Linked DNA regions of Homo sapiens: all the other regions are linked to region 3. The links are contacts of gene promoters, found by promoter capture Hi-C in blood cells and fetal thymus (Javierre and others, 2016). All regions are on one chromosome and are shown on one strand. The core of a region is centred on a gene start or on the middle of the fragment in contact, and the rest is flanking DNA. Distances in the headings are between cores, read along the strand shown. Region 1 overlaps ZNF420 (zinc finger protein 420). Region 2 overlaps ZNF175 (zinc finger protein 175). Region 3 holds the start of ZNF227 (zinc finger protein 227). Region 4 overlaps ZNF567 (zinc finger protein 567). Region 5 has its middle 5.6 kb from the start of ZNF461. Region 6 holds the start of ZNF420 (zinc finger protein 420). Region 7 overlaps ZNF461 (zinc finger protein 461).

The links. The method cuts DNA at HindIII sites, captures the fragments that hold promoters and counts their contacts. A CHiCAGO score of 5 or more calls a contact.
Region 1: a contact is called between a fragment that was not itself captured here and the fragment with the promoter of ZNF227 in region 3, in 1 of 17 cell types (total CD4 T cells). The highest score is 7.3, in total CD4 T cells.
Region 2: a fragment that was not itself captured here is called in contact with the fragment with the promoter of ZNF227 in region 3 in 1 of 17 cell types (total CD4 T cells); the score reaches 5.9 in total CD4 T cells.
Region 4: a fragment that was not itself captured here is called in contact with the fragment with the promoter of ZNF227 in region 3 in 2 of 17 cell types (total CD4 T cells and non-activated CD4 T cells); the score reaches 6.9 in total CD4 T cells.
Region 5: a contact is called between a fragment that was not itself captured here and the fragment with the promoter of ZNF227 in region 3, in 2 of 17 cell types (non-activated CD4 T cells and activated CD4 T cells). The highest score is 13.0, in non-activated CD4 T cells.
Region 6: a contact is called between the fragment with the promoter of ZNF420 here and the fragment with the promoter of ZNF227 in region 3, in 5 of 17 cell types (activated CD4 T cells, naive CD8 T cells, non-activated CD4 T cells and 2 more). The highest score is 10.5, in activated CD4 T cells.
Region 7: a fragment that was not itself captured here is called in contact with the fragment with the promoter of ZNF227 in region 3 in 2 of 17 cell types (naive B cells and naive CD8 T cells); the score reaches 7.1 in naive B cells.

Annotation. Positions count from the first base shown.
Region 1 is chr19:37,128,506-37,131,714 of GRCh38, reverse strand. It overlaps ZNF420 (zinc finger protein 420), which reads right to left. Exons shown (of 5, transcript NM_144689.5): 5 at 1,347-3,209. The coding sequence ends at 2,657. Among named protein-coding and RNA genes, the nearest start is that of ZNF585A, 43 kb to the left of the region's middle. The HindIII fragment of the contact is 4,439 bases long and covers 1-3,209 here.
Region 2 is chr19:51,572,093-51,575,323 of GRCh38, reverse strand. ZNF175 (zinc finger protein 175) reads right to left here. Exons shown (of 5, transcript NM_007147.4): 2 at 1,923-2,174. The coding sequence starts at 1,994. Among named protein-coding and RNA genes, the nearest start is that of ZNF175, 2.4 kb to the right of the region's middle. The HindIII fragment of the contact is 1,968 bases long and covers 505-2,472 here.
Region 3 is chr19:44,210,802-44,214,026 of GRCh38, reverse strand. It overlaps ZNF227 (zinc finger protein 227), which reads right to left and starts at 1,495. Exons shown (of 6, transcript NM_182490.3): 1 at 1,442-1,495; 2 at 783-937. The HindIII fragment of the contact is 5,683 bases long and covers 1-2,419 here.
Region 4 is chr19:36,690,355-36,693,588 of GRCh38, reverse strand. The region is part of intron 2 of ZNF567 (zinc finger protein 567); the gene reads right to left. Among named protein-coding and RNA genes, the nearest start is that of ZNF567, 4.4 kb to the right of the region's middle. The HindIII fragment of the contact is 1,256 bases long and covers 810-2,065 here.
Region 5 is chr19:36,670,678-36,674,117 of GRCh38, reverse strand. It overlaps a transcript of ZNF567 not described here. Among named protein-coding and RNA genes, the nearest start is that of ZNF461, 5.6 kb to the right of the region's middle. The HindIII fragment of the contact is 4,228 bases long and covers 1-3,440 here.
Region 6 is chr19:37,076,723-37,079,721 of GRCh38, reverse strand. It overlaps ZNF420 (zinc finger protein 420), which reads right to left and starts at 1,289. Exons shown (of 5, transcript NM_144689.5): 1 at 1,152-1,289. It overlaps LOC105372390 (a long non-coding RNA gene), which reads left to right and starts at 1,525. Exons shown (of 2, transcript XR_001754095.2): 1 at 1,525-1,624. RefSeq lists an enhancer at 1,214-1,453 and a silencer at 1,544-1,833. The HindIII fragment of the contact is 14,557 bases long and covers 1-2,999 here.
Region 7 is chr19:36,654,595-36,657,564 of GRCh38, reverse strand. ZNF461 (zinc finger protein 461) reads left to right here. Exons shown (of 6, transcript NM_153257.5): 4 at 1,022-1,117. Among named protein-coding and RNA genes, the nearest start is that of ZNF461, 11 kb to the left of the region's middle. The HindIII fragment of the contact is 1,042 bases long and covers 764-1,805 here.

The sequences.
Region 1 (3,209 bases), core at 314-2,813, 7.1 Mb after region 3:
AAATATGGGCAATACCTACTAAAGTAATATAATACCAAGTTAGGTATATCTCATACATGAAGTGCCTACTCACTACTGCCATTTTGTGTCTTAAAAGACATCTACAGATTCAACATGTTCAAAGTTGAACTCTCAATCTTCCCCTAAAACCCTGGAACTGAAGTTTTCTCCATCCTGGTTGATGAAAACATTGTATTCCCAGATGCTCAAGACTAAAATCTTTGACTTAAAGTCACCCTAGACTTGTCTCTTTTACATCTAGCCCTTAAACAAATCTTGCTTGCTGTCACATTTACTATATACCTAGAATACAACCAATAACCACTATACCCATTGTTACCTCTTCTTCCGAAGCCATGACATCCTCTTTCATCTGAGTTACTACAACCTCCTCATCGATTTTTTTCAACAGTTGTGTTTCCCTCAAAATAAAGTATCTTTCCAATGGCTTGCACGCTTGGCAAGACATAGCTCTCTGTTATCTCTCAGTTCTGCTCTAGCAACCATCCCTTTGCACAGTGTTCTTCAATAACTTCTCCACTTTTCCTAAAACACTTCAGTGTAGTCCCATTGTAGGACCTCTCTCCTCTGCCTGGAATCACCACACTCCTTCAAGTCTTGGCTCAAGTCTATCCTTCTTGATGGTCTACCTTGATCACTGTATTTCACAAAGCAATCTAAATGATCATATCCCTCCCATTGTCTTTTCAATGACTTTTTCCCCATAACACTTATATTCTAACATACTCTGTGTGTATGATTATCTCCTCCTGTTAGAATTGTTCACTGACAAATATCCAAAACACCTAAGATAGTGGCTGGAATATATTAAGTACCTAATAACTGACTACTTTTAGAACAATAGGCTCCTGTGAGGAAAACATAACCATATTTACTAGCAGACTGCCTTTGTATGCATTGGCAGTGGTCTGATTTCTTGTTCAGGTTGTCACATTAAATCACTGTAAGTGGATTAAGGGTGGAGGATTGAGGGCTTGCCATCATAGATAACATCTTACCAAAGCAATATTGCTTTCAATTGCTGCTAGTGGGCTGCCTAGCTCTACTCTAAATTTATCTCGTTCACAAGACATTACTGAAAGCAGCAAGAAACATGCAACACACATATTCTGAATCACTTCTAGCATTTCCTCTAACATTATAGCATCAACTGATATAAAGCATGCTTGTAAGAGTGGGAGGCAGTGACAAAACATCCTGCCTATTAAAACAAGAATCTTCAAATTCCTAGCTTAATTTGGGCAGTTCCTCATTCTCAATGGCCCTAAGTCAATACCCCATTTGAGATTTCTTTTACCCATAGCATCCCACTTCCAGGTACAAAATTTTATATCCTTAAGAATTTTTATTGTCAATAACAGAACTACAATAGCATCAACAAATAAGATGTTTAATTTTATTTAAAGAGAAACAGGAGGCAAGCAGACCAGAGCTAGTATGGCTGTTCCACAAAGTCATCAGGGTTGCAGACTCCTTCTGTATTTCTGCTCCATGATCCATAACACCCAGATACCATTCTCAAAGTCCCCATGAGAGTAACGGAGCTCCAGCTTAGATGTCCACATTGTAGGCACGGAAAAAAAGACAGGAAAAATGGATTTCGTAAATCTCCTACTCATATAAATATCACTTCTATCTTGTTGACCTGCAAGGAAGGCTGAGATTTTCAGCCCAGAAATTTGTTACTAAAAAAGAGAAAATAGATATAGGGTAGGAAAAAAGCAGTCTGTATCACAAACTCTCATCATTTTTCATTGCAAAATAGTCTGTAATATCAGTTATTTTGTTTACTTCAAAAGCAATACATTCAAGTTTTTAAAAAATTCCTAGATTTATTAGACTTTGGATCTTAGACTTCGTTAAAAATCACTTCACACCTTGTCCCACTTCTCTAACAGCTGTGCTCAATAATACACTGATTACATCCACTGGGTTTTTTTTTTTTTAATAATACACTGATTATATCCACTGGGTTTTTTTTTTTTTAACAGTATGAATTTCCTCTTATAGCAATAATGGATGAGATTTAAATGACAGCTTTCTCACATTCATTATGGCATACAGTGCCCCCCAACCAAGTCATCTTGGATGTGTTGATAAAAGATTTCTCAATATTCATTATACTCATAAGTACTCTCCTCTCATGCAAATTCTCTAAAATAACACTAGTGAAAATGGTAGCTAATATTTGTGGTATGCTACGTTCAAGGCACCATTCTAAGAGCTTTTACATGTAATAACTTACATAATACTTCCAAGAATCTTACAATAAAGGTAATATACTTAGGTCTATCTTAAAATGATTAAACCAAGGTAGAGGTTAAGTATCATGATACATATAACAAAAAGATCAACTAGTAGAGCTAAGATAACGTTGAAAAAGATATTTGTTTTCAATATGGCTAAAGGGCTTCCTACATTTACTATATTAAAACTATTCTCCAATTTGCTAATGTTTAATAGGTTTCCAGTAATGATGTTTTTCTATATGAATGACACTACCATTTTCTCTCACATAAATTATCTGATGCTGTGCTTTATGAGGCAAATGTGCGCCCATATTCACATTTGTGAGAATTCTTTGCTGCTAACAACCAGAGAACCTCTTCATAGTGATCTCAAATAATCAGACAATTCACATGTAAACTTGTGAGCCATGACTAAAGTCAATCCCACATTCCTTATATTCAAAAGATTTCTCACTGATATGAATTCTCTGATGTTGAGTTAGCTGTGAACCACGAGTAAAGGCCTTCCCACATTCCTTACATTGATATGGTTTCTCACCAGTATGAATTCTCTGATGCCGAGAAAGATGTGAACTCTGAGTAAAGGCCTTTCTACATTCTCTGCATTCATAGGGCTTCTCACCAGTATGGATTCTCTGATGTAGAGTAAGCTGAGAGCCATGACTAAAGGCCTTGCCACACTCCTTGCATTCATAGGGTTTTTCTCCAGTGTGAATTCGCTGATGTTGAGTCAACTGTGAACCACGAATAAAGGCTTTCCCACATTCCTTACATTGATATGGTTTCTCACCAGTATGAATTCTCTGATGTTGTATAAGTAGTAAGCCACGCGCAAAGGCCTTTCCACATTCATTACACACATAGGGTTTCTCACCAGTGTGAAGTCTTTGATGTTGGGAAAGATGTGAACTCTGAGTAAAGGCCATTCTACATTCTTTA
Region 2 (3,231 bases), core at 239-2,738, 7.4 Mb before region 3:
AACGGCGTTAACCCGGGAGGTGCAGCTTGCAGTGAGCAGAGATTGCGCCACTGCACTCCAGCCTGCGCTTCAGAGCGAGACTCCGTCTCAAAAAAAAAAAAAAAAAAAAAAAAACCTCTCTAAAAATCCGGAGGCTAAACCAAACCAAAATATAAATCAAAAGGTAAGAAAAAGTAACTCACTAAAGACAAGTAATTGACCAATAAAATTATGAAAAAAAAGCCTGTTTGTAAACAAAGTAATGCAAATTAAAACACTATACTATCTTTATTTCCATCACATTAGAAAAGATAAAAATAACAAAATAAAAATAGTACTGTCCAGAGCAGAGGGAAATACACACCACAAAGAGAAGATAATGTGCATGGTACTGGGATATACTCTGACATGAATTCAGACACTGATGGAAAATCTGAATTAGCGACAGCAGTATTGATTCAAATGATAAACTGGAAATCAGGTCAAGCAGAAAAAAAATTTCATTGTTAAAAAAGGAAAAAAGCTTATATTGAACATGTGTCCTAAAACGCTAAACTTGAAGATGTTCTGAACACGCAAGTTGACCAACATCAATGCAAATGAGAGAAACGTTTGTGCATCTGCACTGCTGTCACAAAGACTTAGACAATTTCATGTTTTAAACTTGTTTTGTTTTGAGACAGGGTCTCACTCTATTGCCCAGGCTGGAGTGTAGTGTCATGATTGCAGCTCACTGCAACCTTGACCGCCTCAAGCTCAGGTGATCCTCCCACGTCAACGTACTCAGTAGCTGGGACTACAGGTGCATGCCACCACACCTGGCTAATTTTTGTATTTTTGTAGAGTCTCGCCATGTTGCCCAGGCTGGTCTCCAACTCCTGGGCTCAAGTGATCCGCCCGCCTCGGCCTCCCAAAGTGCATGAGCCACTGTGCCCCACCTAAACTTGTATGTTTCAATTTTTCTTTTAAGAACGACTTTTAAATATTTGGGGTATTTACAATTTTGAAAATGATTTATATGTGCAATTTATTTTGTGTTAATGTTCCCTTCTTTTAATACTTTCTATTATCAAATGTTTCTAGCAGGTTGAGATGATTTTAACAGGTTACTGAAATATATAATCTCACAATATATTGGTTCAGGATAATAACACACATATTTATTATACTTTTTTTAAAAAACAGAACATCTCTGTAAATTTGGTTATAAACCCATCACAGAACAATGGTACACTGTTTACTATTATAGTCACATACTATTTAAAGACTTGTAAATAAAGCATCAAGAGATACACAGAATAATTTAGGATTTCAGGAAATCTTGACTATACCAAGAATTCTGATTTCTTGTTACCAAATCCTGACTATTTCTATCTGTGGGCAATCTGGAAACACTGTTTTCCAGCATTTTTTGTTCACCTTTTTAAACAGGAAAAAGTGTTTAAAAGCCTCTTCACATGGTCCTTAAAAGCCTCTTCTCACTCTACCTCCCTGTGACTATTTAAATTACAAAGGAAGGAGATTTTGCCGCACCTTATGAGAACAGAGGAAAAACGGGCCAAACCCCATGGACCAAGCAAGGAATTTGGTGGGGGGGACCACTTGAAATTTTTCAAAGACCCAGTGGTGGATGAAGGAGCAGAACCAGTGCTTAGCAGGAAAGAGTCAGCTTTTCCATCCTATGACTGGGGCTTCTGATCAGACCAGGGACTACAGTTTCTTCTTTCTTGACCCAAGGCCAACCCTCTACTATCCTCTTTTATCAGCCAGTTCATGGTTTCCTCTAGAACACAGATAGCCTATGAATGTGGAAACATCAGCCTCTGTGGTCCTCGCTTGACAGGAGGCTCAAGACTGACTCAGGAGCAGGGAGCCCAGACCTGCTGCATCCTGTGTCTGCCCTCACGTTCTGGAGAACTATCCCCAGGGCTGCCCCTGTTTACCTCGCAAGATCCATCCTGCTTCTCTGGACCCAGGACCTGAGGCTTCTGGGATAAATTCACATCAGCAGGCATCTCCACTCTGGGCTTCTACTCTCGGTCTCTCTTGCTGACAACTCCACTTTTCCCAGGAGCCAGAAGCTGGATAGGTGTTTGGATTTTCCAACCAGGGACACGGCGGAGAGTCGTACTGGGCTATGAAGAGAGATCCTGCAGCCTCAATGATGTGGCCTGACCTGGGGGTTCTGCAGAAGCCTTGGAAAAGCAATGAGTACATGGTCACTCATTCAACATTCACTCCACAAATATTTCCTGAGGGCACTGAGGTGAAGTCACTGTGTCAGACATTGGAGTAGACAAAGTTCAGAAAGCCCAACTCTAGTTATTAGTCAGGGTTAAAAATAAAGACTGAGTCTGGACTAAATGGTGAATTCATTGCAGCTTTGCCACATTTTCACTGTGAGAATATGAAAATATTACTTTAGTTGTAGTTTCCAAAATGAAAATGCAGGTATTTATCACAGATGTTGGGAAACTTAACCAAGATGAAGCTTGTCAAGTCCTCAGTGCCTGCCTGGCACGTGATAAATATGAATTAAAAAAAGAAAGTTGTCAATTTAATTGTCAGCTAAATATCATGGGCATTATCATACCCATTTTGAGGATGAGGATAATGAGGCTGTGTGCTGTTACATAATTTGCCTGAAGGTTACTCAGTCTGTAAATGGAAAAACAGGGAATCAGCCCCACATCTGCCTTGTTCTAAACTGTACACTGTCTCCACTATCTCATGTACCCATACGTGGCCAGCTTCCAGAAACACCATTTCCTCTTTCTGTTGCCTTCATAGAACTCAGGCCGGGAGGTGGCTCTGTCTGGTGTACCTATTCTGAGCTTCTGGACTTTTCAGTCCCCGTCCATAATACACCACACACAGACCAGCCTCTTCTGACTAGAGCTAAAACTTAAAATCACTGTCCCAATCCCCATCTTGACACAGAAAATTTGCAGACATGCATCAGGGCCTCCAGTTACCATTTCTTGCCTGTCCACAATAAGTTGCCCCCACCGCACCTGAATGCAATCACTGACAGGACTGACTTTCAGAAATCCCCAATGAGTGTACTACAGGGCTGCCAGAAAGTTCCAAAATGCCTCCCAGTCACTGACATGGCACAGGCTTCTGAAATCTTTACTGCCCTGATAGCCAAGAAATGTTTCCCAGCGAGCACAATTTTCTGGTTTCCATAAAACGACAAATAATCCCCAACATAGGGGTCCAAATGAAATGCCCCAATAGGAAACCATCATC
Region 3 (3,225 bases), core at 246-2,745:
CAAAGTTTTTGAAATCCAGTGTGTATTTAACACTTACAGCACATCTCAATTTGGACTAGACACATTTCAAGTGCTCCTAGGGCACACATGGCTTATAGCTACTGGATTGGATAGTGCATCTCTATAATGAGCATTCATTACTTCTATAACTAGAATATGACATATTTTGACATGGAATGAAATTAAGTAAGTGAGATGTTGCAGGATTTTTCTAAAAAATTCAAAATTCATCAGTGCAGTTTTTGAGGTCTTCCACAGTAAAATCCATACCTACATTCCCAAGGCTGATTTCCAACGACTCACCGGTAGCCATATGGATTACTATTTAAGATAACTGAAGACGACTGTATCATTGAGATTAAGACCACAGACTCAGAAAAAGGAATAGAAAATAAACAACAACAAAAACCAAAGAAACAAAAACAAACAAAAAAGATCACACAGTCTGAAAAGGAATGCTTGGGTTCAATCCCAAATCCACCTCTTACTATCAGTTGAATAACTTCGGGAAAGTATTTAATAACATAAACTCTGCCTAATTTCCTCATAACAAAATAACAAGACCTACTTCATCAATAGCTATGGTCCACAGACGAATGCCTTAAAATCAAAGTGGTAAGATGTTATTGGTAATACTCATTTCCAAGTAGTTTTCCTACCCACTCTCACATTTATTCAACAAATATTTCATCATTTTTCAGTAGTAACTTACTGAGTGACGGAAACTTGATTAACTGAAAGGACAGAAAATGGAACAACAAAGTGCGTTCAAGAGCAGGTACCTGGGGCTATGCTGGGAGAAGCCAAGAAGTCCCTCCTTCCTCCTCTTTGCAAATTCGGAGGCGGTGAATAAAAGGATGCTGTCAGCACGATGGAGTCTCTATCCCGGATAAACGGCGGTAAACATCCCCACGCATTGGAGCCCGATGACTCAATCCTTCTTAAAAAAAAAAAAGATCTGTAAAAGTTCGGGAAGAGCTCGGTCTCCTGAAGGATACGACAGAAAGGCCATGGCATAAAGCCCTGACTTTTCTTCTCTCTTCACTGGAGCTTCCAGTAAAAAGGGCGCTTGTGAGGGAATCACTGTATCAATAGCAGGAGCCAACCCAGTATCAGGTGCCACCACTGTTCTAAGGTTTGACCCGTATTATCTTGTTTAATTCTAATTACAACCCTACACAGTAACGACTATCTTTATTGCTATTTTAAAGATGAGGAAACAGGAGCGCGGATCATAGGTAACTCGCTGTTTATTATACCCACAGAACTAGCGGCGCTGCTTGCCAAGTGCGGGAGGAGAGCAAACTTCCCGCCCTCGGCCTCTCGGCCTCCGCCGCGGCCGCGACCTCTCCATCCCAAGACTGATGGCTGGGGAGCGCCTATTCCCAAGCACAGGCTGAAAAGGTTCAAGAGGGGTCGTGGGGGTGCAGGGCTGACTCACCTCCCGGACCCAAAAGATGGTGGCGGCCTCGCTTTCCGGGGCGGAAGTGGCTCTGCCTGCCCAGAGCTCCTGAACTACCCTTCCCAGAAGGCCCGCGCTCCTGCGGCCCAATTGTTTCCGGACAGAGTTCTGGAATACGTTTCCCAGAACTTCCAGAAGGAAAAACCATCCAGGTGCCGCCCTCTTCGCGCTTGAAAAAAAAAAAAACAAAAAAAAAAACGGAGCGAGCGAGTGAGAGAGGGTTACGGAGAGTGTGACAAAATTCTCGGAGCTCCCGGACTACAACATCCAGAATCCTCTTCACGGCTTATTGCTGTTTAGCCAGGCTGAAGCAGTTCTCTGATGTCAGTGGAATTTAGGTTTTTCTTATTAACAAAAAGTAACAGCAAATATGTGAAGAATTGGAGCCCTAAAATAAAAAAAGACTCCCAGCACTTTGGGAGGCCGAGGCGGGCGGATCACGAGGTCAGGAGTTCCAGACCAGCTTGGCCAATATGATGAAGCCCCGTCTCTACTAAAAATATAAAAATTAGCCGGGCGTGGTGGCGCGCGCCTGTAGTCCCAGCTACTTGGGAGGCTGAGGCATAAGAATCGCTTGAACCCTGGAGGGTGCAGTGAGCCAAGATCGTGCCACTGCACTCCAGCCTGGGCGACAGAGTGAGACTCTGTCTCAAAAAAAAAAAAAAGAAAAAAAAAACTATTATAAGAAACAGATCACGTGATCCTGTACTAATAGAATTATACCCACCACTTCCAAAAAAAAAAAAAAAAAGGGCAGAGGAAACCCTTTAAGTTTTTACATTTAACAGGATCGACTAATAGAAAAACTACTCTTTAGATACTAAAAGAATGAAAGAGCAATCAAAAAATGCAACGAAGGCAGAATATATTATGGATTTCCACTTTTCTTAATAGCACAGTCATATAATTCAGAACAACTTGCTTACTGAGGATAGCTAGACATAGAAAACACAAGCTTTGGCATATGGTAGATCAACTCCACAAAGCAACTAGGGCCTCTGTAATCATTCCTCAAGGAGTTTCTGAATTTGAAAGATGAACAAATTTATTACTTCAGTGTTTAAACCTTGATCTTTATTTGCTTAAATGTATAATGGAATTGATGTTTCCAAGAATTGAGGGTTGAAAGAAGAGAGCAATACCTAAAAATATCCACATATCTACTACAGTACATGTTTGCAGTTCTCATTTACTAAATATATATTCTTTATTCTGTTATATACAACTATCTCTTATAAAGAACCAAGTATGTGCCAGGAACTAGTTCAAACTATTCAGACTATGGGACCCTCACTACATTTTCACAACTTTTTTCTTTTTTTTTTTGTTCTGTTTTGTTGTTGTTGTTGTTGTTGTTGTTGTTAGACAGAGTTTGGCTCTTTTGCCCAGGCTGGAGTGAAGTGGCATGACCTCGGCTCATTGCAACCTCCGCCCTCACACAAGGTTCAAGCAAGTCTCCTGCCTCAGCCTCCCAAGTCGCTGGGGTTATAGGCACCCCCCTCCCCACCACGCCCAGCTAATTTTTGTATTTTTAGTAGAGACGGGGTTTTGCCATCTTGGCCAGGCTAGTCTTGAATTCCTGACCTCAGGTGATCCACCCGCCCCGGCCTCCCAAAGTGCTAGGATTACAGGCATGAGCCACCACACTTAGCCCATTTTCACAACTTTTTTAAAACAAATAATGTCCTCTAGTTTACTCTTTGGGATCCAGAGGCAGAGAGAGGTTAAGTATATCTCCTAAGATGGAAATTTGATTATTTTCA
Region 4 (3,234 bases), core at 188-2,687, 7.5 Mb after region 3:
ACAATGCTAGAAAGTTCAAACATTTTTATTAAAATTTTAATGGAAATCCATGAAATGTAAGGAAGTTTTGACATTTTATCATGTTGTGTCTTCCTGTCCTTTTATTCAAGTCTTATTTTTATTTTATTTTTGAGACAGGGTCTCACTCTTTGCCTAGGCTAGAATACAGTGGCATGATCATGGCTCACTGCAGCCTCGACTTCCTCAGCTCAAGCAATTCTCCCTCTTGCATAGCAGGGACCATAGGCATGTACCACCCACATCCAGCTAATTATTTTTTAATTTTAATTTTTTTGTTTTTGAGACAGGGTCTCACTCTGTTGCCCAGGATGGAGTGCAGTGGCCTATCACCGCTCATTGCAGCGTCGGCCTCACTGGGCTCAAGTGATCCTCCTATCTCAGCCTCCTGGGTAGCTGGGACTACAGGCGCATGCCATCAAGACCGGCTAACTTTTTTTTTTTTGGTAGAAATGGGGTCTTACTATGTTGCTTAGGCTAGTCTCCAATTCCTGGGCTCAAGCGATCTTCCTGCCTTGGCTTCCCAAAGTGCTGGGATTATAGGTGTGAACCACCACATACCGCCTACTCCCAGGGTTGCTGAAAACTTTGAGAAAGAGTAAGTGGCTCACAGGGGCAGGTATGGGATAAGATATTCTGCATGGCTTTGTCCAAAAGGGCCCAGAGTAGGAAACAGAATCCATGCCCAACGACAGGGAATCAGACACCATAGGCACTTCTCAGTCTTGCAGCAGGCTCTTTTTAAAATTTATTTATTTTTATTTTGAAATGATTATAGATCCACAGAAGCTTGCAAAAATAGTGCAGAGAGGTCTCATTCACCTTTCACCTAGCGTCTCCACAATGGTCACATCTTCCATAACCATAGCATATGGTCAAAATCAGAAAACTGGTTGAGCACAGTAGGTAGCTCATGCCTGTAATCCCATCACTTTGGGAGCACAAGGCAGTAAGATCGCATGAGCTTAGGAGTTTGAGACCAGCCTGGGAAACATAGTGAGACTCTGTCTCTACAAAATAAAAATACACAAATTAGCCAGCATGGGGGCGTGTACCTGTAGTCCCAGCTACTCAGGAGGCTGAGGCAGGAGGGTCACTTAAGCCCAGGAGTTTGAGGCTACAATGAACTATGACTGTGCCACTGTACTTCGACCTGGACAACAGAGCAAGACTCTGTCTCTAAAAAATAAAAACAAAAAATCAGAAAATTGTCATTACACAATGCACCAACTTCTTTCAGATATCACTAGTTTTCCATGCATTCATTATGTGCGTGTTTTTACCATTTTATCACACATTTAGATTTGTGTCACCACCACCACAATCAAGAGGCAAAACTATTCCATGTAAAGATACCATTTTAAAGTAATTGTTTAAACGACCCATCAATACCACTCCTGAGTATCTATCCATGACAAACAAAGACATGTATCTACAAAAAGACCCGAATGTGAATGTTCGTAGCAGTTTTATTCATAACCACCTCAGAACTGGAAACAACCCAAGTGTGCATCAATGGATACACAGACAAACCAACTGTGATCCATCCAGACAATGGAATACTACTTTATACTAAGAAGAATGAAGCAATGATACATGCAATAATATGAGTGAATTGCAACATGCAACTGAACTGAGCTCATGCCTGTAATCCCAGCACTTTGGGAAGACAAGGCAGGAGGATTGCATGAGCTCAGGAGTTCGAGACCAGCCTGGGCAACATAGTGAGACTCTGTCTCTGCAAAATAAAAATACACAAATTAGCCAGCATGATGGCATGTACTTGTAGTCCCAGCTACAGTTTACTAATTGCAACATCCTTACTGAATGAAGCCAGACTCAAAAGGCTACATTCTGCATGACTCCTTTTATATGAGATGAAATTACAACAGAGGTTACTTCTGTGCCAGGGTGATTGGATGGGGGCTAGAAGTGTTCTGTTTTTGTTTTCTTTTTAAATTTGGGTGATGGTGGTGACATGAGTTTAAAAAAATCCAAATATATACATTTGCTTATATTAAAATAATGAAAGGATAAGCTGAAAGCTTAGATAAAAGATAGAATATAATATTCGGTTGCTTTTGTCACTAACAAAGTATCCTGGAGGCCAGGCAAGGTAGCTCACACCTATAATCCCAGCACCTGAGGAGGCCAAGGTGGGCAGATCACTTGAGCCTAGGAGTTCAAGAACAGCCTAGGAAACATAGCAAGACCCCCAACTGTACAAAAATAAAATAAAATAAAATTAGCCAGGTATGGTTGTACATGCCTGTAGTCCCAGCTACTTGGGAGGCTGAGGTGGGAGGATCACCTGAGCCCAGGGAGATCGAGGCTGCAGTGAGCCATGATCAAGCCACTGCACTCCAGCCTGGGCAACGGAGGGAGACCTTGTCTCAGAAACAAACAAACAAAACAAGAAAACAAAAAAATCCAAAGTATCCTGGAGGCCCTTCTCCATAAATCCATGCAACTGATCCCTTTTCATGGCTGCATAATACTCCTCAGTGGCACTGTACTTGGTTAATCCAACCAGTTTCCTTCTCTTGGATATTTGGAATTCAATTATTTCTTTACACTTTCCAAAATAATTCCCTGTGATGTAGATCCAATGACCCTCACAAAAACCCTGAGTGAGGTAGGTCCTATTATACCTGAAATTGACTAACATGACTAACACAGGAGACACTCATGGCTTGCTCAGTGTTACACATTGCAGAGGTGGCCTAGCCAAGATTTTTTAAATGACAGCATTGAGATATAATTTACACACCATAAAATTCATCCATCTAAAGTATACGATTCAATGGTTGTTGGTATATTCACAAACCATCATAATGAACAATCATCCACAACCTAATTTTAGAACATTTCAATCACCATGAAAGAAACTCCAAAAGAATGCATGCCAAATTTAAGATCATTAAGATGTATGCCTATGTGTTTTTTCCTAAGAGTTTTATAGTTTCTTTTGTTTTGTTTTGAAACAAAGTCTCACTCTGTTGCCCAGGCTGGAGTGCAGTGGTGTGATCACGGCTCACTGCAGCCTCGACCTCCCTGGGCTCAGGTGATCCTCCCACCTCAGTCTCCTGAGTAGCTAGCCACAGGGGCGTGCCACTACGCCTGGCTAATTTTTGTATTTTTGTAGAGACAGGGTTTCACTAAGTTGCCCAGGCTGGTCTTGAACTCCTGGACTCAAGCAGTGCACACACCTCAGCC
Region 5 (3,440 bases), core at 225-2,724, 7.5 Mb after region 3:
ATAATAATTAGTAAATAAAAATGTTTGAGAATAAACAGTGTGTTAAATATCATATAATAGAACCCATAATCCTAATGATTTTCATTCCAAATTAGTTGGCACTCATCAGGAATGGCTTTGTGAAGCGGGTGGGATATAGAATAGAAGGTGTCAAGTTAGAAAATGGTAATCTAATAGTTAAAGACTGAGGACTTTGAAATTCAAATTCCAGTTCCTTCTCTTAGGAACTCTGTGACATTTTACAAGTTATTTAAGCTCTTGATGCCTCACCTGCATCATCAGTTTACCGGGAAAGGTATCAATAACTCCCTCAGGGTTCTGAGGGGAGTTAAATGACACTATACATGTAAAATACTTAGGATAGTATATTAAGGTTCTCTAGAGAAACAGAACAAACAGGGTGTGTGTGTGTGTGTGTGTCTGTGTCTGTGTCTGTGTGTATGCATGCACACAGAAAGATTTATTTTAAGGAACTGGCTCATGCAATTGTGGAGCCTTGGTACGTCCAAAATCTGCAAGGCAGGCCAGCAGGCTGAAGACCCAGAAAACAGTTGTGATTCGAAGTCTAAAGGCAGTCTGCTAACACAATTCCCTCTTGCTCAGACATTAGCCTTTGTACTATTAAGAACTTTAGCTGATTGAATGAGGCTCATCCATTGTGTGGAGCGTAATCTGCTTTATTCAGAGTCCACTGATTTAAGTGTTACTCTCATCCAAAAAAACACCTTTCACAGAAACATCCAGAATAATGTTTGACCAAATATCTGGGCATCATGGCCCAGTCAAGTTGACACATAAAATTAACCATCATAAGTCCACCCTTGTCGACTTGGTACCCATAAGCATCTCCTAAAACCATACTTCATATCTGAATAAAGGCAGTAACAAGGTTATACTTCTGCTTAACATGATACAACTATCCTGCATAAAACCAAAAATAACTAACACTTCCCCAGAAGAGGATGCAAAGTCTGGATGATGTTAATGCTTCTCCCTGATATCCCATAACTTAAAAACTGATATAAAGTTAACAATATTTAAATACTCTAATATAAAGTCAGTATATCATACTGTACATGATAAAGAGATATGAAAGGGATGAAAACAAAGCTGTGTTGTATACACATTCATTATAAAATAAAGAAGACACATTCATGACAATTAGTCTTTGTTTCTGTAACTGCTCACGTGGTTATAGCTGGTATTCATACCTACCTTCTTCCATTATCCATTATGTATTCCTTTTTCCCTCAGCAAGCGAGCTCCTCAGCTGATTGTGGTTCTTTAACTGGTGGGGTGACCCAAACCTTCATTCGTTAAGGGTCTGGATGGTAGTTTTGGCAGAAGCATTTTGTGTCAGGAAGGCAAATTTGTATCTAAAGTGTGTATTCCAGTAAGAAAAAAATACTACCCCTTCCATGATGGAAGCAATCCAATGTATCAGCCTGCCACCAGGGAATGGTGCCATATTGGGGAGCCAATGTTGGTCTTGGCTGCCAGCAGACTGGGCACTCAGCAGTAGCTGTAGCCAGTTTGGCTTTGGTGAGCAGAAGTCCATGTTGCTGAGCCCATGCATAACTTTCATCACTGCCATCATGACCACTTTGTTCATGAGCCAATTGGGTGATGATAAGGGTAGCTTGGTAAAGAGGCTGACTGATATCCACAGAATGGGTCATCCTATACACCCGATTATGAAACATCCTCTGCTAAGGTTACCCTTTGGTAAGTATTCACATAGGGCACAAATATCTTTATATTTTTTACCTGTTCAGCGAGGTCCATATCTCTTCCCTAGAATTCCTTGTCACCAGTTTTTAAATAATGTTCCTTCCAAGTTCCTGACCATCCAGCCAGACCATTGGCTACAGTGCATGAGTTGGTATATAATGTCACATCTGGCTATTTCTCCTTCTAGGAAAAATGAACAACCAGGTGCGGTGCTCAGAGTTCCAATCACTGGGAGGATTTCCCTTCACCACTGTTCTTTGGGGATGTCCCAGAACAGGACTGTAGCGCTGTCCAGGTGGTATCTGTCTATCATGCAGAACCATCTGTAAACCAGGCCTGAGTCTTCTCTACCTCTATCAACTGATCATAGGGAACTCCCCATGAGGCCACGAGTGCAGGCTGGGAGAGAAAGGTATTGTAGCAAGAGGGGGGACGATGGGCTTTTGGGCCACTTCTTCACATGTGTGCCTTCAGGGCCTGCTTAGGCCTGATCACATTTATACCACTTAAATTTTATGATGGAGTACTGCTGTGTACACTCAATTTAATGACTTGGTGGGTCAGGTAACACCCATTTCCTGATGGGTAGTGCAGGTTGCATGGTAACTTCGTGGCCCATGATTAAATGTTCAGTCTCTACTAAGGTCCAGTAGGAGGCCAAAAGCTGCCTCTGAAGAGTCGTTTTCTAAAAAGGAAGATAGGGCTTTGCTCCAAAATCCTCAGGGCCTGCACTGTGATTCCTCTGCTGGGCCCTGCCAAAGGCTCCAAACGGCATCCCTCTCTGCTACTGACACTTGAGGCACCATTAGATTTGTTGGATCATGTGGCCCAAGTGGCACATCAGCTTGCACAGCAGCCTGGTCCTGTTGGGGAGTTTTCCTTTGTTCTGGGCCCCGCTGTAAACTAACAGTTTTTTGGATCACTTGGTAAATGGCCAGCAGAATAACACATCCAAGTGAGGAATGCGTTGCTTCCAAAATCCGAAGAGACCCCCTTTGCATTGTGCCTCCTTTTTGACTGTAGGAGGAGCCAGATGGAACAATTTATACTTCATCTTAGAAGGGATATCTCACCATGCTCCACACCACCCGACCTCTGGGAATTTCAGTGAGGTAGAAGGCCCCTGATTTCTTGTTGGGTTTATTTCCATCCTCTGACATGCAATGTCTTAACAATAAATCTAGAGTACTTGCTACTTCTTGTTCACTAGGTTGAATCAGTGTAATGTCATCAATGTAATGGATCAGTGCAGTATCTTTTGTTTATTTGTTTGTTTGTTTGTTTTGAGACGGAGTCTTGCTCTGTCGCCCAGGCTGGAGTGCAGTGGTGCGATCTCAGCTCACTGCAACCTCTGCCTCCTGGGTTCAAGCAATTCTCCTGCCTCAGCCTCCCGAGTAGCTGGGATTACAGGTGCATGCCACCATGTTCAGCTAATTTTTGTATTTTTAGTAGAGACGGGGTTTTGCCATGTTGGCCAGGCTGGTCTGGAACTGCTGACCTCAGATGATCCACATGCCTTGGCCTCCCAAAGTGCTGGGATTACAGGTGTGAGCCACCACGCCCGGCCCAGTGCAGTATCTCGTGGAAGGAAAAGGCAATCGAGATCCCTGTGAACTAACTTACGATATGTGTCTGGAGAGCTGATATACTCCTGAGGCAGCACAGTGAAAGCGTATTACTGGCCTTACCAATTGAAAGCAAGCTATTTA
Region 6 (2,999 bases), core at 40-2,539, 7.1 Mb after region 3:
AAGGTATTATCAGCCCTAAAATTCTCATCCTAAGACCAGGTCTGTAACTTGCAAATAACTCCTATTCATCACTCAGGTGTCCAAATGTCTGACTTCCTTACTTCTTGCCACTTCCCTGCACCCAATCCCCTTAAGGCTATAAGGCAAGAGGACGCAGGGAAGAAGTCGTGAACTCGTAAGTAACTACATTTCCCAAGGTGAACCGAGGATGGATACAGAAATGAAGCAATACAGGCCATGGATGAAAGGGCAGCCACTGTGGTCAAATCAAAAAGTCCTTAAGTCCTCAGAGCCACATGGGAGGAGCACAGAGCCACATGGGACTCACAATCCATAGGCAGACCTCAGCCCCAAATGAACCCCAGAAATACCAAAAAGAAATTTACTTCTGTACTGGACTAAACCCCCATAAGGTCACAGAATATACAAATGGCCACATAAAGTCACACATAATCACATTTCCACAGTTACACAGCTAGAGGCACAATCACCCAATTATGCTACATTGTTAGACCACCTTGTCTCAAACAAAATCCCATTAAGTACAAGGCATATAATTACATCCAAGCACCTTGTCAGAGACACATACCGCCAAAAACACCCTTTCAAAGCTGCAATTTTAGTCTCTTTACACAGTCATGAAAACAGCACACACAACCCCACAGTCACACACAATCAGACAGTCACCCAACCCAGTACGAAATCAGGGAAACACGCGGTAATAAACACCGTGTCACAGCAACACTGTCACACACCTTAAATTTACTGGCAAATCCATCCCACGATATCAGGTTTACACACAACCTCAAAGTGACACAAGAACATCCAAACACTCTTGTCACAACTGTCACACACTTCATAGTCACAGGCAAACCCCAATTATACACGCGGCACACATAAAATCACAGTCACATAAGTATATCCCAGCCAGGTAAGCAAACAGTCACAAACACCCTCAGAGTCACAACTCACACTCATACAAATGCTCATACACAAAACCACAGCCACACACGTCCAGTCGTGTATGCACAGGCAGTCGCCAATACCAGGCAGGCTGTAGCCTGCACACAAAACCGGAGACACGGCCACACGAGTAACCCCAGCGACGCTTTCTCCGCGCGTGTCCGCTCCGGCATCCCGGACACTCCTACCTTGACAGAGGTGCAGTTCAGGGTCCAAGATCTGGCTCCCGGGTTCCAAGCCCAATTTCGGGTTCGCCAGCCCAGCAGGTGCGGAGCCAAGCTCCTCCACAGACGCGGCCCTCTCCCCACGCGAGGCCTCCAAATCTCGCAAACTAACGGAAATGAAGCTACGCTCCGGGAGCGGTGCCTCTGGGAAATGTAGTCCAGCGCTCCGGACGCCGTGCCTCTGGGAAATGTAGTCCAGCGCTTGGCTAGCCGGCCAGAACGCCAGGAGGCCCGGGCCGCTCACCCCTCGAGGGGCTCGTGGGCTCGGCCTGTGGAACCTGCTTGTCCCGCCTGCAGCGCCCCGGAGGTTTCTGGGAGTGCCCGCCCGCCCGCGCTCAGTGCGCAGGCGTCAGACGCTCAGGGCCTGCGAGAGCGAGCTGAGTGGTCCCAGGGTCTACCCCTGGCAGGAGAGAGGGTGGGACCCGCCGGCCAGGCAGGTGCGGGGGAGGAGCTGGGGCCGGTGCGGGGACCCGCCGGAACCTCGGATTTGCAGAGGACCCTGTGTGTGCCCTCCCAGGCCCTTGGGGTGTGTGTGACAATGGGAGATGCCAGGTGGACTGAGAGTCTTTCCGTGGCCGGGTGTGTATGGTTGTGTTTCTGCCTGTGTGTGATTCTTCCTGCTGTGGGGTGTGAGGTGATTTGTACTTTAAGCTGCGTAGTAATGGGATTTTATAACTGTGTAGAATCGTCTAACAGAGTAAGACGATTTTACACAGATCTCTATTGTGGTTTGCTTATGAAGGGTATCTGTATGTATATCTGCTTTTTTGTGTGTGGCCGTAATTGAGTAACTGGTGATCTGTGTTATATAAACGTGCTTTCTTTGTGCTTGTATTTCAGTGTCTGTAAGGGTGCCAAGAGCAAATGAGCTGTGTGTGATCGTGTGTGACAGTGAAAATACTATGGCCAAGTTATTTCTTCCTTAAATAGTAATGTAATAATCTGGAAAAGATAATCAATTTATCTGACAAGTAATTTAGACATCATTTTTCTATTGGATCAAATATATGTGTTATCGGGAAGAATCCAAAATTAACGTAGTTTTTTCTTTGTTTTTAGAAAGATTATTTCAAAACCAGTCCTAGGGTAACTGCCTTTTCCTCTGCCACAGCAGGCCAAAAGTAGATATCCATTATTTTCTAATTAGAGGGTAAAGTTTCTCTTATTACTGGGTACGGTTGAGAGGCCATCAACTAATAAAATAATAAAACAACGTTATACATAAGAAGAGTGAATTTTAGCACAGTACAGCACTAGTCAGATTTCCCAAATTCTAGGTCAAACACTTGTCCTCATTTTCTGATGAGAAAACCTTGGCCGGCAGAAAGTAACTTAAGGCTGTAGAGTTTGTTGGTAAACCTGAACTTATTTTTACTTACTTCAAGACCTCTTGGCCTTTTATGATTTTTGAATAATCAAAAACTTGTGAACTTCCAGCACAGAGAAGATAGAGTATAATTTCACCACTCCTTCAGAGGGAAAAAAATTAATAAAACTTGGTCTTGCAAGACCATATATCAAATACATTGATCTCTTACCGGTAATGTGACTGGAATAGCAAATTTGGTGATCAGAATTCTTGAGGGAATGAACCTGTGTGTGTGATCAGGCATAGCTATGTGAAATATAGATAATTAAATTGCACTGAGTTAGAGTGGGTCAAAGTCAGGCAAGAATTATGTCCAATTCACATGCACACGTATGTTTATTGCGGCACTATTCACGATAGCAAAGACTTGGAACCAACCCAAATGTCCATCAATGATAGACTGGATTAAGAAAATGTGGCACATATACATCATGGAATACTAT
Region 7 (2,970 bases), core at 35-2,534, 7.6 Mb after region 3:
TCAGGTGATCCACCTGCTTCGGCCTCCCAAAGTGCTGGGATTACAGGCATGAGCCACCGCACCTGGCCTTTTTAATTTTTTTTTGAGACAGAGTTTCACTTTTGTTGCCCAGGCTAGAGTGCAATGGCATATCTTGGCTCACTGCAACCTCTGCCTCCCAGGTTCAAGCAATTCTCCTGCCTCAGCCTCCTGAGTAGCTGGGATTACAGGTGCCCGCCACCACGCCCAGCTAATTTTTGTATTTTTAGTAGAGACAGGGTTTCACCATGTTGGCCAGGCTGGTCTCGAATTCCTGATCTCAAGTGATCCACCCGTCTTGGCCTCCCAAAATGCTGGGATTACAGGTGTGAGCCACCGCGCCTGACCTGTACTCTCTTTTAAGTGATTTGCCTTTGGAAGTTATTTTTAAAGAACTTTGTACAGTTAACATTAAAAAAAAAAAGGAGGCTGGGTGCTGTGGCTCATGCCTGTAATCCCAGCACTTTGGGACGCTGAGGCAAGTGGATCACCTGAGGCCAGGAGTTTGAGACCAGCCTGGCCAATATGGGCCAAACCCCGTTTCTACTAAAATACAAAAATTAGCCAGGCAGAGTGGTGTGCGCCTATAATCCCAGCTACTTAGGAGGCTGAGGCAGGAGAGTCACTTGAACCCGTGAAGTGGAGGTTGCAGTCAGCCAAGATTGTGCCATTGCACTCCAGCCTGGACAACAAGAGCAAAACTCCATCTCAAAAAAAAAAAAAAGAATAAATATCTCAAGAAGCTTCTTTTTTTTCCTCACAGCAAAAAAGAGAAACCTTACATAAATTTAAGTACTATTTTATCGCCTGTTTGTTTGCTTTGTTTGTTATGATCCTGTGTTCATCTGAATATGAGTGTTTCATCTCTTCTCCTTTATTTCCTCTGTATCCCTTATCAAGTACCATTTTTATCTGTGATTTATTTTTATTTTAATCAGTTCTAAATCACTGTATTTGGATACATTCATTTCCATCTCATCTCAATTTCTTTTCTTATAACTAGGACTTTCTGTTTCTAAGCCAGCCGTAATCTCCTCATTGGAGCAAGGGAAGGAGCCCTGGATGGTTGTGAGGGAAGAGACAGGAAGATGGTGCCCAGGTGAGTGAGCAAGCACAGGAAGCTCTTGCAGAGAGCAGGCCAGCTGGTCAGAATGTTGGGCTGGCAAGTTTATTTTAAACCAAACTTTGGGAAAACCTGATTTCAAAACATATTACAAAGATATAGTAATCAAACAGTGTGGTACTGGCATAAAGATATTCTAGGCCGGGCGCGGTGGCTCACGCCTGTAATCCCAGCACTTTGGGAGGCCGAGGCGGGCAGATCACGAGGTCAGGAGATCGAGACCACGGTGAAACCCCGTCTCTACTAAAAATACAAAAAATTAGCCGGGCGCAGTGGTGGGCGCCTGTAGTCCCAGCTACTCGGGAGGCTGAGGCAGGAGAATGGTGTGAACCCGGAAGGCGGAGCTTGCAGTGAGCGGAGATCGCGCCACAGCACTCCCGCCTGGGCGACAGAACGAGACTCCGTCTCAAAAAAAAAAAAAAAAAAAGATATTCTAAAGGAATAGAATAGAAAGCCCAGAAATAAACCCTTGCATAAATAGTCAAATTATTTTAGACAAGGGTGCCAACACTTCCATGGAGAAAATTGGATTATCCACAGGCAAAGGAATACAGTTGTACCCTTGTCTTACACCATATAGAAAAATTAACTCAGAATGGATCAAAGACCTAAATGTGAGAGCTAAAGCAATAAAACTCTAAGTAGAAAATATTGGAGAAAAGCTTCATGACATTGGATTTGGCAATGATTTATTGTGTATAATACCAAAAGCACTGGCAACAAAAGCAAAAACAGACAAATGGGACTACATCAAACCTAAAAACTTCTGTACATCAAAGGACACAATCTATAGTGTTTATTAATTTTTGTTTGTTTGTTTTGAGACAGGGTTTCACTCTGTCACTCAGGCTGGATGGAGTACAGTGGTGCAAACTCAGCTCACTGCAACCTCTGCCTCCCTGGCTCAAGCAATCCTCTCACCTAAGTTTCCTGAGTAGCTGGAACTACAGGCCCATGCCACCATGCATGGCTAATTTTTTAATTTTTTGCAGAGATGAGGTCTCACTGTATTGCCCAGGCTGGTCTCGACCTCCTTAAGCAATCCTCCCACCTCAGCCTCTGAAAGTGCTAGGATTACAGGCATACACCACTGTGCCCAGCCTGCTTATTAGTTTTTTAAAAGATTCAGGCTGGGCTCAGTGGCTCACACCTGTAATCTCAGCACTTTGGGAGGCTCAGGTGGGAGGATTACTTGAGCTTAGGAGTTTGTGACCAGTCTGGGCAACATAGCAAAAGCCCTGTCTTTACAAAAAATTAAAAATTAAAATATTCACCAGGCATGGTGGTACATGCCTGTAGTCCCAGATGTTCAGCAGACTGAGGTGGGAGATCACTTGAGCCCAGGAGTTTGAGGCTACAGTGAGCCAAGATTGTACCACTTTACTCCAGTCTAGGTGACACTGCAAGATGCTGTCTCTAAATAAATAGATAAAAGATCCATACAAGTTGCTTTGCTAGGTGATGGGAATACATTTTTAAAGTGTTATAGAGACGTTTTCAATCTAACAGGGGATCAACAATACATGGATGGATGTTCTAATAGAATCACTAGGCAAAAAAATAGTGTTGATCAGAAATTAGGAAAGTTAGAGAAAGTAATATATGACTATATTGAGGAGGTAGAGATGGCAGAGGGATGATTGAGAAGGAAGGAGATCAACCAGGAAAGTTTGGGGTGCTATAGACCAAGGGCAGATCCATTCTACAGGCTAGAGTTCTTTGATGATGTCTGTGATTCATTGAAGTGCTATAGGCTGAACATGGTGGCTCATGCCTGTAATCCCAGCACTTTGGGTGGCCAAGGTGGAAGGATTGCTTGAGCCTAGGAG